Linked DNA regions of Homo sapiens: region 2 is linked to region 1. The links are contacts of gene promoters, found by promoter capture Hi-C in human tissues and cell types (Jung and others, 2019). All regions are on one chromosome and are shown on one strand. Each heading gives the region's core, a stretch centred on a gene start or on the middle of the fragment in contact. The rest is flanking DNA. Distances are from core to core; before and after follow the strand shown.

Region 1 (5,672 bases), core at 1,401-3,900:
TAGCAGTCACTCTCAGTTCCACCTTCAGCCCCAGGCAACCACTAACCTATTTTCTGTGACTGTAGATTTGTCTTTTCAGAAAATTTCATACAAATGATTTCATACAAACGAATTATGTGGTCTTTTGTGTCCAGCTTCTTTTATTTAGCATGTAGCTGACATTTTGATTGCCATCTCATGAAAGACTCTGAACCAGAACTTTCCTGCTAAGCTACTACTAAATTATTGATTCACAGAAACTGTGAGGTAATGAATCTCTACTGTTATTTTTGGCTGATAAATTTTGGGGTAATTTATTGCACAGTAATTGATAACTAGTACACATCGGTAGGTGATACTGCTGGGAAACTAAGTCCCACATTTAATGGCACACATTCAATGGGCCATTAAACCCAACCCCAAAGGTACTATTAAGAGTTGTGTTGGGATCTCAAATCAAAGCAAAAAGAAAAAAAAAAGAGTTGTGGACATGATAAATTATATCTTACAATTCGATTAGCATATTTTGTTAATGATACAAAACTGCTACTTTTTCTAATTTTTAAAAGAAAGCCCTTTCCAAAATTAGAAGAAAGAATTTCCAATTTGTTTTTAGGTCCATGAAAAAATTTGCATGAACAAGGAAGAGATGAAATTGTGGACAGTCAAAAGTGTGGTCTAGCTGCCCTGGTGGGCTACCAAGGAAACTTGCCATATTAGTCTGGAGTGAGTTTTGACTGATCAGATTGGACAATAAAAGGCTCAGCTGTAATTCCAGGAGACTTAATTAGTCATTTGCAACCTTAAGATACAGCTATCAAGAAGCCATTTAAAGGATTCATGAGGGAAGAGAACAGGTGGATACAGGCTTCAGATTTTGAGTTTGATACCGAGAGGAAGAAAGAGGCTCACAACTTCACAACTGTGTGAATGGGCCAAAACTTCATGGAATGCTGTAAAACAAGAGCCAAATGTGAAATGGTTTAAATAATGTGAATTAGTAACACTCTTGGAAACCTGAGTACAATTTGTTGTTTGATGATAGTTTTGACTTGGTTTCTAATGCAGTGAAGGTCAAAGATTAAGAGACTCATCTAGAATCTAGTAGTAACAAAAAGGAACCCTTGGATATGGCGCGGGGGAAGGGAGGAAGGGGGGGGGAGGGAAGGGGAGGGAGGGGGGAGAGAGAGAAAGAGAGAGAATGCCGCAGGTCATTAGGTATTATTTTTCATTCCTCCTGCAACTTTCTACTGAAAAGATTACCAACGACTGACAGATCTTTGCCTCCAATCTTCCCCACCCTTCCCTTTATGCTTCAAAATGCTACAAAGTCATCTTCCCAAAGCAGCTCTGATTATATAAATTTTTGCTCAGAAACATCTGATATACCCCCACTGCATGCAGAGTGAAATCTGGGCTTCTTGGAGCATTCAAGACTCTCCATAATATGTTTTGGTAGGCCAAGAGTTAGACCACTTGGATACCTTGATCTCTTGCTAAGTATTATTTACTTTCCCTACCCTATAAATCATCTGCCTCAAACATTAATCTTTGTACCTTCAACACCCCCTCTATTTTCTGTACTGTATTTGCAGCATTTCTTGTCTATCTCAGCCTGTCAAAATTAAACTCAGCGTTTATGTCAGGTTATGTCTCCATAATGCCTTATCCACGCCCTTAGTCAACATTCTTCTTCCTCTTCTGTGGTGCATAAAGACTTTTATATCTCAATCACACCACCTTTGGCGTTCTGCCTGGTTTTACAGATAGTTATGTCTTGGTGTCCCCTACTTCCTTACCCTGTGATTTAAGCATAGTATGGGTTAGAACATTTGCCATGAATTGGCCTGTGGCAGGGAGCTGATGATCCTTGTTATCAACCATTCAAAGTTTAGCAGATAGTTTGGAAAATCAGGCGATTCTGCTAATTCATGAAATTACTCATGAAAAAAAGTCGAAAGGAGTCACCCGTCTCTAAGGCGGCTTTTTGCTGTCTAGAATAACCGTGACAAAAGGTGGGAGCAAAATAATTAGCTTTCAGGGGAGTATGGCTTCTCTAAATAGTTGCAAGATGCCTACATTGTTTATGTAAAATAAAATATCTTATGTACTGCACTTTCGAAAAGACTGAAGATATCTAAGATATCTCCAGGTGGAAATTCCCGGTGACGGGTGTCCTTCTGAGGTCAACGGCACTGACCATTGCACACTGTATTCTGGAATACGTTCAACACAGCAAAACCGGCTCGTGGCGCGTCCCCGGCGTCCGACTGCTGCGTGGCCCCGAGCGACCTGCACCCCACTCGCCCCCGCCCCCACCTCCGCCCCAGTCCGCAGCGGCTACAGCCCGGGAGGCTCCAAGGGAACTCCCGCACGTCTGCGCGCGCAATCACGGGACGGCGGGTCGGCGTGGCGCGCGCAATTGCCCTGGAAACCACGGCGCGCGCACGCGCAAACGCGGGTGATGGGGGGAAGAAAGACTGAGCTGAGAGCTTTGCCGCGGGGGGAGGGCTCTACCTCGCTCCCCCGCGGTGGGCGCGCGCGCTGGCCCGCTCCCTTGCTGCACGCTCCCGGCTCGCGCGTTCCCCCCGGTGCCCTCCCCCGCCTCACAAGCACCCTTGCCCTCCCGCATTTGTGCGCCGGTGCAGCAGGCAGTGGGAACATCCGGGCATTTCCGCAGCTGAGCGGCGACCCGGGCGGCGGCGGCGGTCGAGGAGCTCCCATGGCAGGGACGAGGCGGAGGGAAGGCGAAAGGGGGGCGAGGAGTTAAGCCAGAGCCTCCGCGGGGCGGGTTTCCGAGGGAGGCACAGAGGGAAACGGCTCTCGCAGCCCGAGGAGGGTCAGGCGCGGAGCTTGTCGCACCTCCCGCGCATTCTGTCCAGCCCGGGCTCCGGAGATGCATCTGCATCAGGTCCTCACCGGAGCTGTCAACCCTGGAGACAACTGCTACTCCGTGGGCAGCGTCGGGGATGTCCCCTTCACGGTGAGCGGCGGCCGGGAGCCCTAGGGGAAGATACCAGGGGCCAGACGCGGGGGCAGGGACCTCCTGTCCAGGGCGCACGCCTCCTCAGGAGGCTGTGAGATGTTGGTGGGCCCCACCCGTGGCCCCTTTGCAGCCTTGGGGTTTAGTTCCCCCTGGGACCCGTGGGACCGTGGGTCCTGCGTCTGGTGTAGGAAATCACCCGTTAGGGGAAAGGCTTAGGAATCCACCGCACTCTCCACCCCAAGCAAACGGGCCTGAGGTGACTGGACTAGAAGGCTCCTCCTAGGGCGGCCCTTCGGTCTGCGGTGGAGGAAAGTGGTGGTGCGGCTGAAACCCCAGAGCGTCCGTTTCGCAGCTGCTCTCGGCGTGGAGGCGAAGAGACTTGGTGTTGGTCTCGGAGCGTGGAGGTGAAGAGACTTGGTGTTGGTCTCGGAGCGTGGAGGCGATGCTGCGCCTTGGCTCCCCCTGCCCGCTGTGCTAGGGCAGCGAGGAGCTGCTGGAGTCTGTGGCTTTAAGCCTGACTCTGTATCTCCTGATAATGCAGGATCTTAATTCCAACAAAAAGATAGAAAAATTCATCCTCCGCGCCCGAAAGATTTAGAATGGAAAGGTTAGAGTCACAGTGGCTTGGAGAGCTGTCTCATTTATCAGGAGGTCGTAGTTTGGTAATCCTCCTAGATAATATTTTAATCTGTAAGGTAGCCTTTTTTTTAATATAGTAAGGCAATGTGAAAAATTTACAACAGTGCTTGTTTGAGAAAAGTGTATGTATACATAACGTTTTAGAATCTCCTTAAAAGCTAGATGAAGTAGACATGTTTCTCAAGGAGATTGGACTCATCAGTCCTTTTTGAGAGTGGAAATGTTTAAACCAAGCCTTGGAGCTTCGTTTACTCATAGATAGACTCCCATAAATTGAGTTCTTTTTTAAAGAATGAAATTTATACATGGTCTTCCTTATAAGGAACTGTAGGCAGCCAGACCTTTATTAAATATATTTTGTAAACTGTTCTTCTTGATAAAACTGGAAATTCCGTAATGGTATGCTTTTTAGACAAGGAAAACCCTTTGATGTCTGCTTTCCAACAGTGTTTTTAAAACTGCGGAAAATAAAGCTTCAGCAAAACTGCAGAATCATTATGTAGCAGTGCATTCTGGAACAGAATTTATTTTTTGACGTTTTGTGATACATTAACCCCAGAAGATTGCTTTTTAGCCATTTTAATTTTTTAGTGTAATCCACTTGGCCTAGCTCCAGTTTAGAACGACCCCTTTTGTCATCTGTGTTTTATGTACATGTGACTTAAAATATTCATATAGAGCTGAGCTTTGTCTTCAAGTGTGTGGAGAATCTTGGTTTTTGGGGATAGAGAGAAGAAATTTCCCTGTTCCCCAGTAGTGCAGATAGGAAGTTCCTCAGGGTTAGAAGAGTGGGCCTCTTTCATCAAGAAACAAAGCTGGAATCTTTGGTTATATTTTCCTGCTAGAATGGTGGTGGTAGTTTTCTGCTTCCATCTAAAGTGGAGTGCTGTCTCACGGCAGGTCTGGTATGTAGAACTAAATAAACGGGTTCAGATGCAGCCTGGAAAAGCCTGTGTAAGAACTGTTAGTGCTGTGCAGGTGTGGTTATGCTGTAGGCCACTTGTGACCAGATGCTTAGAGTCATTTTCAAATCTTCTTGCACTTCCCTAATTCAGCGTTTCACGAAGTCTAGTTGACTCTGCACTGTCTACCAGATTTACTCCTTTTCATATCCTTAACCACCACCTTATTTTACAATCTTATTGGTATTAATATAAAAGCTTTCAAAACTGTCATGTCCGATAACTTCTTCATCCTCCACACCGCTGCTAGGATAATTTTCTTCAAGTGTCATTTTACTATATTACTCTTGGCTTAAGAATATGTAATTGTTTTTAATAGCTGTGTTAGGAAATGTAAACTTGTCAAGTATTCTCCATCTTTGACTTTATTTTTAATTATATGTACTCCTCACTTTGGCCCCTCTGTTACATACTGATCTTCTTACTCTAAACTGCATTTTTATGTTGCAACAAGACAGTCCTTTTGGGTTTCCAAATTCGACTCAAAATTTACGTGGTTTAGGATGCCTGCCTGTGACACTGTTATTTTGGTCTTTTGACAAATGTAAATACAAACCCATTTTGCACACCATCTCATTTAACTACCTTAGTTTTGAGCGCACTGATCCAGTTTTAATTTTGCCATGAACTAGAAATGATCTCTTGGGCTTTGTGAAAAACAGATTGAAAAACAAAACAAAACAAAACAAAAAACAAGCTGCTTTCAAGCAGTCTATATATAATCAACTAACAAATACTTAAGTTCCTATGTTTGTAAATATAGGAATAATAAATAGTAATAATAGTAAAATAAAATAAAGTAATATAATAGTAAAAATAAAAAGCAAGCTCCTCTTCATGGAGCCTGTCACTTGATTTTAGAGCAATCAGATGAAGAAACTTTAGTTCTGGATCAGATGATTAAAAGGGGGACCAGCCAGGACTTGGAATGAAGGTCTTGTGACTTCTCATTGTGTGGGCTTTTCTTGGTAGTATTTCCTTCTTAATATCAGAGTGCCTGCTCTGGAGAGGGTGTGTGGGTGCGTAGGTGGGTTAGTGGATGGATGGAAGGCCTCCCAGACATAGTGTAGAAGGAACTACTGTCTTGCAACTAACTCATGATTCTT
Region 2 (5,672 bases), core at 290-2,789, 560 kb before region 1:
GGGCTGCACGAGAACGAGACGCTGGCGTCGCTGAAGAGCGAGGCCGAGAGCCTCAAGGGCAAGCTGGAGGAGGAGCGAGCCAAGCTGCACGATGTGGAGCGTGAGTGCGGGCCGGGAGGCGGGCGGGGCAAGCCGGACCGGCTCGCCACTTCCCGGGCGGGGACGGCGGGGGCGGTGGGGGCGGTCGTGGCTGCGACGGGAGCCAGGCCCGCGCCACCGCCCGGGAGCAGGGCCCTGGGGCCCGGGCGCGCAGGTGAGGCGCGGGTAGCGGTCCCGATCCCCGGGACGCGCGGCGGTGGGGCCCTCGGAGGGTCCGGGCACCTGGCCGACCCCCGCCGCCAGCTAGCGGAGGACCGCGGGACTAGCTATCCTCATCACCTGCCTGGAAGCTGCGAACGGATCGCGTTCTTGCCCCTCCCATGCGGAGGGCAGGGGGTGGGGTGTCGGTGGTGACGAGCGAGCGCGGCGAGCCCGTGTAGGCGCGGCCTAGGAGAGACTCCTGTTTTGTTTTTTAATGCCCGTCTGGCTTTCTCCATCACTGTTGTATCTTTTCTCAGTTTTGCTTTTATGAGACTGCAATTTCAAAGCTCATTTTTCCAACCTCTCCCCTATCCTTGGGGCGGGGAGCTGGATGACGGAGAGAGAAGGGAAACGGAGGAGCTCACTAAATTCAACCGTTCAGTTCGTTTAAGGCTGTTTAAAAAGCTTTTGGATCGATGTGGTGGATTGGCATAAAAAAGCCATAGCGATCTTAAACTTGCATTCTTCACCACCACCACCGTAATTCAGAACTGGCTCTGTGATTTTTATGAGTGAGCGATTAAATAGCCAGGTTCAGCGGCTCTTGGCCAAAACAGCGTTCCTTTACTTTGTCAGAGGGCTCCTCCTCAGCAGAGCTTGGGCTGGGGGCCAGGCTTGGGGAAGTGGTTGTATCTGCTCACTTTTGAGCTCTGAGGGTGGCATCTCCCCTTTGCTGAGCACCTCCCACGGTGCCCTCCTGCACACCTTGACGTTGTTCTCCTGCCATTCCTAATCGATGCCACCCTTTACATTCTATGTGGAATGGAAAAATGGGGTTCGTGCTAGGGCCTTTACCTTTTGATCTCTGAAGATCACTTAAGAGAAGTGGATGACCTGGATCTAGCGTGTGCTGTGCTTTCCTAGGGGTCTTCTTTAAATAGGAGGCACTCTAAGCTTAGAAATCCTGTCCAGCAATCACTAACTGTAAACCCCAAATAATGTAGTTATGCAAATTGAGAGTTACTTTTCTTACATAACAAGAGCAAAGGTGGATGATCACCTGCTGTTGTTCAGCTGCACCATGCACCCCCCACCAAGGGACCCAGGCTCCTTCTGCCTTTCTTCTCCACACCTTAGAGCAGTGGCATTTGCCCCATGATTATAATATGATTGCCACAGCTCCAAACATCACTTCTGTATCCAAGGCAGGAAGAAGGGGGAATATGGACACCAATCTCTCTTTGCTCCCTATCAAGAAAGCAAAGCAAAAGTTTTCCCAGAAATCCTTCTCCCAGTTTGAGACCAGCCTGGCCAACATGGTGAAAAGTATTCATAGGTCATCTAATTTCTCCATTTGACAGATGAGGAAACTGAGGCACAAAGAATTAAAGGACTTACCGAAGGTCCCCTGCTAAGTGTTGGGACCCGGATTCCCCCCAGGCAATCAGAGTGCCAGCTCAGGCTCACTTCAGATTATTTTCGCCAAACCCGTTTTGAGCTTCATGCAGAGGGCGTTCTCCAGAAACTCACTTATTCAATAGTGCAGGCTGCATGCCTGGATATTTTCAGGTTTTCTGTGAATTTGTAAGTTGCCTTAAGACAGAGAGCAGAGATGCAGCTTTTCAAAGGGAACCTCAGGGGGCAAATGTAGTCAATCCAAAAGAAGAAACTTTTTTTTGTCCTGCCAAGAGTGTGGTGCCCTCAAAAGCTAGGGCCAGATTTTAGACCCACAGTGGAAGGGTCTATCCCTACCTGCATATGTCAGAATTTGTGAGCTGGAAAGACCAGAAGTCATGTGGTTGTGTCCCTCTTGATTCCCCTGCAGCTTCCAGACCACTTCTCTTCTACCCCGCATAAAGCCTTTGCTTCTTGAAGGTTCTTATCACTGTATTGACCTCTTCCCCTTTGACATGTCTCCTGATCTCCCAGCCAGGTTCTCTCATTTCTCTACTTTTCTTTTCTTTTTTTTTTTTTTTTGACACGGAGTCTCCCTCTGTCACCCAGGCTGGAGTACAATGGCACAGTCTTGGCTTACTGCAACCTCCACCTCCCAGGTTCAAGTGTTTCTCCTGCCTCAGCCTCCCAAGTAGCTGGGACTATAGGCATGTGCCACCACACCCAAGTAATTTTTGTATTTTTAGTAGGCTTCACCATGTTGGCCAGGCTGGTCTCGAACTCCTGACCTCAAGTGATCTGCCCGCCTGAGCCTCCAAAAGTACTGGGATTACAGGTGTGAGCCACCGCACTCAGCCATTCTTTTCTTTATTCATCTTTATTTTTAAGAGACAGGGTCTCGGACCGACAGGGTGGCTCACGCCTGTAATCCCAGCACTTTGGGAGGCCAAGGCGGGTGGATCATGAGGTCAGGAGATTGAGACCATCCTGGCCAACATGGTGAAACCCCGTCTCTACTAAAAATACAAAAATTAGTTGGGCATGGTGGCAGGTGCCTGTAATCTCAGCTACTTGGGAGGCTGAGGCAGGAGAATAGCTTAAACCAGGGAGTTGGAGGTTGCAGTGAGCCGAGATCTTGCCACTGCACTCCAGCCTGGGCGACAGAGCGAGACTCCGTCTCAAAAAAAAAAAAAAAAAAAAAAAAGGAGGAGCTAGGCAGAGGCCCCAGGAGGGGGTGTGTTTGGTGTATCTGATGTATCTGAGGAAGAGTGAGGAGGCAGGTGTGTCTGGAGGGGAGTATGCAGGGCAGAGTCCAGCTGCAGGTTATGCTGGGAGCTCATGCAGGACCCCATGGGTGCAGTGAAGATTTGGGCTCTTACTCCCAGTGAGTTGGGAAACCCTTGGAGGGTTTTGAGAGAGAGGATGGATCTGATTGCTTTACTGGGCTCACTCTGCCTGCCATGTTTTGTGGCAGAACAAGACAGCTTGAGGGAGGGAAATGAAGTGTGAGAGGTAAGTGACCTGGGGTAAGAGTTCTTGACAAATGTCTCTTTCCCTCTTATCAGAGAGCCTACCTTGCGTGCCACTTGCCAGCTCCTAATGGAAGTTACAGCTGAAGGTGGAAGAGCGAGAGATGATTTCTGAGCTTGTCTTGGTCCCATAGTTGACCCTGCAGCCGCTCTTACCTTACCCCAGCCCAGACTCGCCCAGCTCCTTCCTAAGTGTGTTTGTCCCTTGGCACTCAGGTGGGAAAGGGAGGAAAGGATGCTGATGAGTTTTACTTGTGGAAGTATAAGCTAGAGCCCTGCCAGGTGCAAACAACAGTGCTGTCATTTTTCCCTGTATGAAGGAAAGTGGTATCATCCCCATCTGTGCGATGAGCGAGCAGGCTTAGCAAAGTCGAATAATTCCTTCAGGGTCATGCAGCTGGTTAGTGATTGGGCCAGGATTCAGTTTAGGAATGATGCAGCTTTCTTTGCAGGGCTCCCCATTGAGCAAGTGGCTGAGAGCCTGGGGGAAGGTGGGAAGGGTCTGGTGAGGCTGGGGAGGACCATAAACTGAATCTGTTCACTCCCCAGAGCAGGGGCTGGCAGCATGCACTTTCCTGTATCTCTTATGGTGACTGGCAGCCCCTTAGTTAACAGATGTTTTTGTTTGTTTGTTTGTTTTGTTTTGTTTTTTTTTGAGATGGAGTCTGGCTCTGTTGCCCAGGCTGGAGTGCAATGGCATGATCTCAGCTCGCTACAACCTCCACCTCCTGGGTTCAAGCAGTTCTCCTGCCTCAGCCTCCTGAGTAGCTGGGATTACAGGCACATGCCATCACACCTGGCTAATTTTTGTATTTTTAGTAGAGACAGAGTTTCACTGTGTTAACCAGGCTGGTCTCGAACTCCTGACCTTGTGATCCGTCCACCTTGGCCTCCCAAAGTGCTGGGATTACAGGTGTGACCCACTGCGCCTGGCCGTTTTTTGTTTGTTTGTTTGTTTGTTTTTTGAGACGGAGTCTCACTCTGTCGCCCAGGCTAGAGTCCAGTGGCACAATCTCAGCTCACTGTAAGTTCCACCACCCAGGTTCAAGCGATTCTCCTGCCTCAGCCTCCCAAGTAGCTGAGACTACAGGCATGTGCCACCATGCCTGGCTAATTTTTGTATTTTTAGTGGAGACCGGGTTTCACCATGTTGGACGGGCTGTTCTTGAACTCCTGACCTCAGGTGATCTGCCCGCCTCAGCCTCCCAAAGTGCTGGGATTACAGGCGTGAGCTAATGTGCCTGGCCTGACAGATTTGTTTCTGACACACACAGGCCTTGTTTCTTGCCCAGCTGAGATTCCCAGCCCCTGCTTCGTGATGACCTCTGCAGATATTTCCCATTTTGGAATCCAAGGATGGTTTCCTGTGAATTGGGAATGTGTGGCCAGACACATGAGTTTTATAGTACCAAATTAGGGTATGCGGCTGACACCAGAGGGGTATGGTTTATTCCCCAGAGCAACATGTGTTAGATGCCTGTACATTTTTGCATTTTAGTGTTGCTATATAGGTGGCCCAGTAGCCTCTGCCCTAGTCAGGGAGACCCCTTTAGGCTATCAGCTAAGGTAATCAACTCATCCCAGTTTGCCTGGGACCCTAGGTATGTGTGTTTGTTTGTTTGTTTGTTTTTGAGACAGAGTCTTGCTCTGTTACCCAGGCTGGAGTGCGGTGGCACGATCTCGGCTCGCTGCAACCTCCGCATTCCAGGTTCAAGCAATTCTCCTCCCTCGGCCCCACTAGTAGCAGGCACACACCATCTCGCCCAGCTAATTTTTGTATTTTTAGGAGAGATGGGGTTTTGCTATGTTGGCCAAGCTGGTCTCGAACTCCTGACTTTAGGTGATCCACCCGCCTCAGCCTCCCAAAGTTCTGGGATTACAGGCGTGTGCCACCGTGCCTAGCCAGACCCTAGGTTTTAAAATGGAAAGTCCTGCACCCCAGGAGACCCTGCGGCCCTAGGCAAACCAGGATAGTTGTTACCTCCTATTGGCTTGGACTTGCCCAAATTCTTGCCTTAAGGTAGCTTAAGGCAACATATTAAAATTGTATAGCATAAACTTTGAGGAAAAAATGGTTTCCTCTCTTCAGACACTGAGTTCTTCACCTCCATCCCTTTGGCCCTCATCCCCAAGCCAGACCCTTGGCCAACATTAAATATAGGAAGTATTAATAGCTTATATGGGTCCTCTGATGGGAAGCCAGCTCACATCAAACTCCACAGCCCCAAGCCCCATTTTCCCCTTCCTCCCACAGAGCTTCCTGCTTCTCCCCAGAGCTTTCTCCTTGTCACTTTCTGCTTATCTTCTACCACAGGCGAGTACTACCTCGCTTGATTCCAAGGCATTTTAGAATCATATGGTTACAGTGTGCATTCATTTCTGATTGCTACTGTACAAATTTCCACAAACTTAGTGGCTTGCAATAACATACATTTGTTTTCTTATAGTGCTGGAGGTCTATAATCGGTGACTAAAATGGGTGGGCAGGTCCTTCTGGAAGCTTTAGGG

What was found. The method cuts DNA at HindIII sites, captures the fragments that hold promoters and counts their contacts. A contact is called where the count stands out against the background at its distance.
Region 2: a contact is called between a fragment that was not itself captured here and the fragment with the promoter of DMXL2 in region 1, in 1 of the 25 tissues and cell types used here (lymphoblastoid cells).

What each region holds. Positions count from the first base shown.
Region 1 is chr15:51,619,749-51,625,420 of GRCh38, reverse strand. DMXL2 (Dmx like 2) reads left to right here and starts at 2,650. Exons shown (of 44, transcript NM_001378457.1): 1 at 2,650-2,962. The coding sequence starts at 2,876. LOC105370816 (a long non-coding RNA gene) reads left to right here. Exons shown (of 5, transcript XR_932236.3): 4 at 135-246; 5 at 596-737. RefSeq lists a silencer at 2,513-2,732 and an enhancer at 3,103-3,512. The HindIII fragment of the contact is 6,819 bases long and covers 1-4,421 here.
Region 2 is chr15:52,174,196-52,179,867 of GRCh38, reverse strand. GNB5 (G protein subunit beta 5) reads left to right here. Exons shown (of 13, transcript NM_016194.4): 3 at 1-100. Among named protein-coding and RNA genes, the nearest start is that of CERNA1, 3.0 kb to the left of the region's middle. RefSeq lists a silencer at 1-431. The HindIII fragment of the contact is 3,781 bases long and covers 1-3,429 here.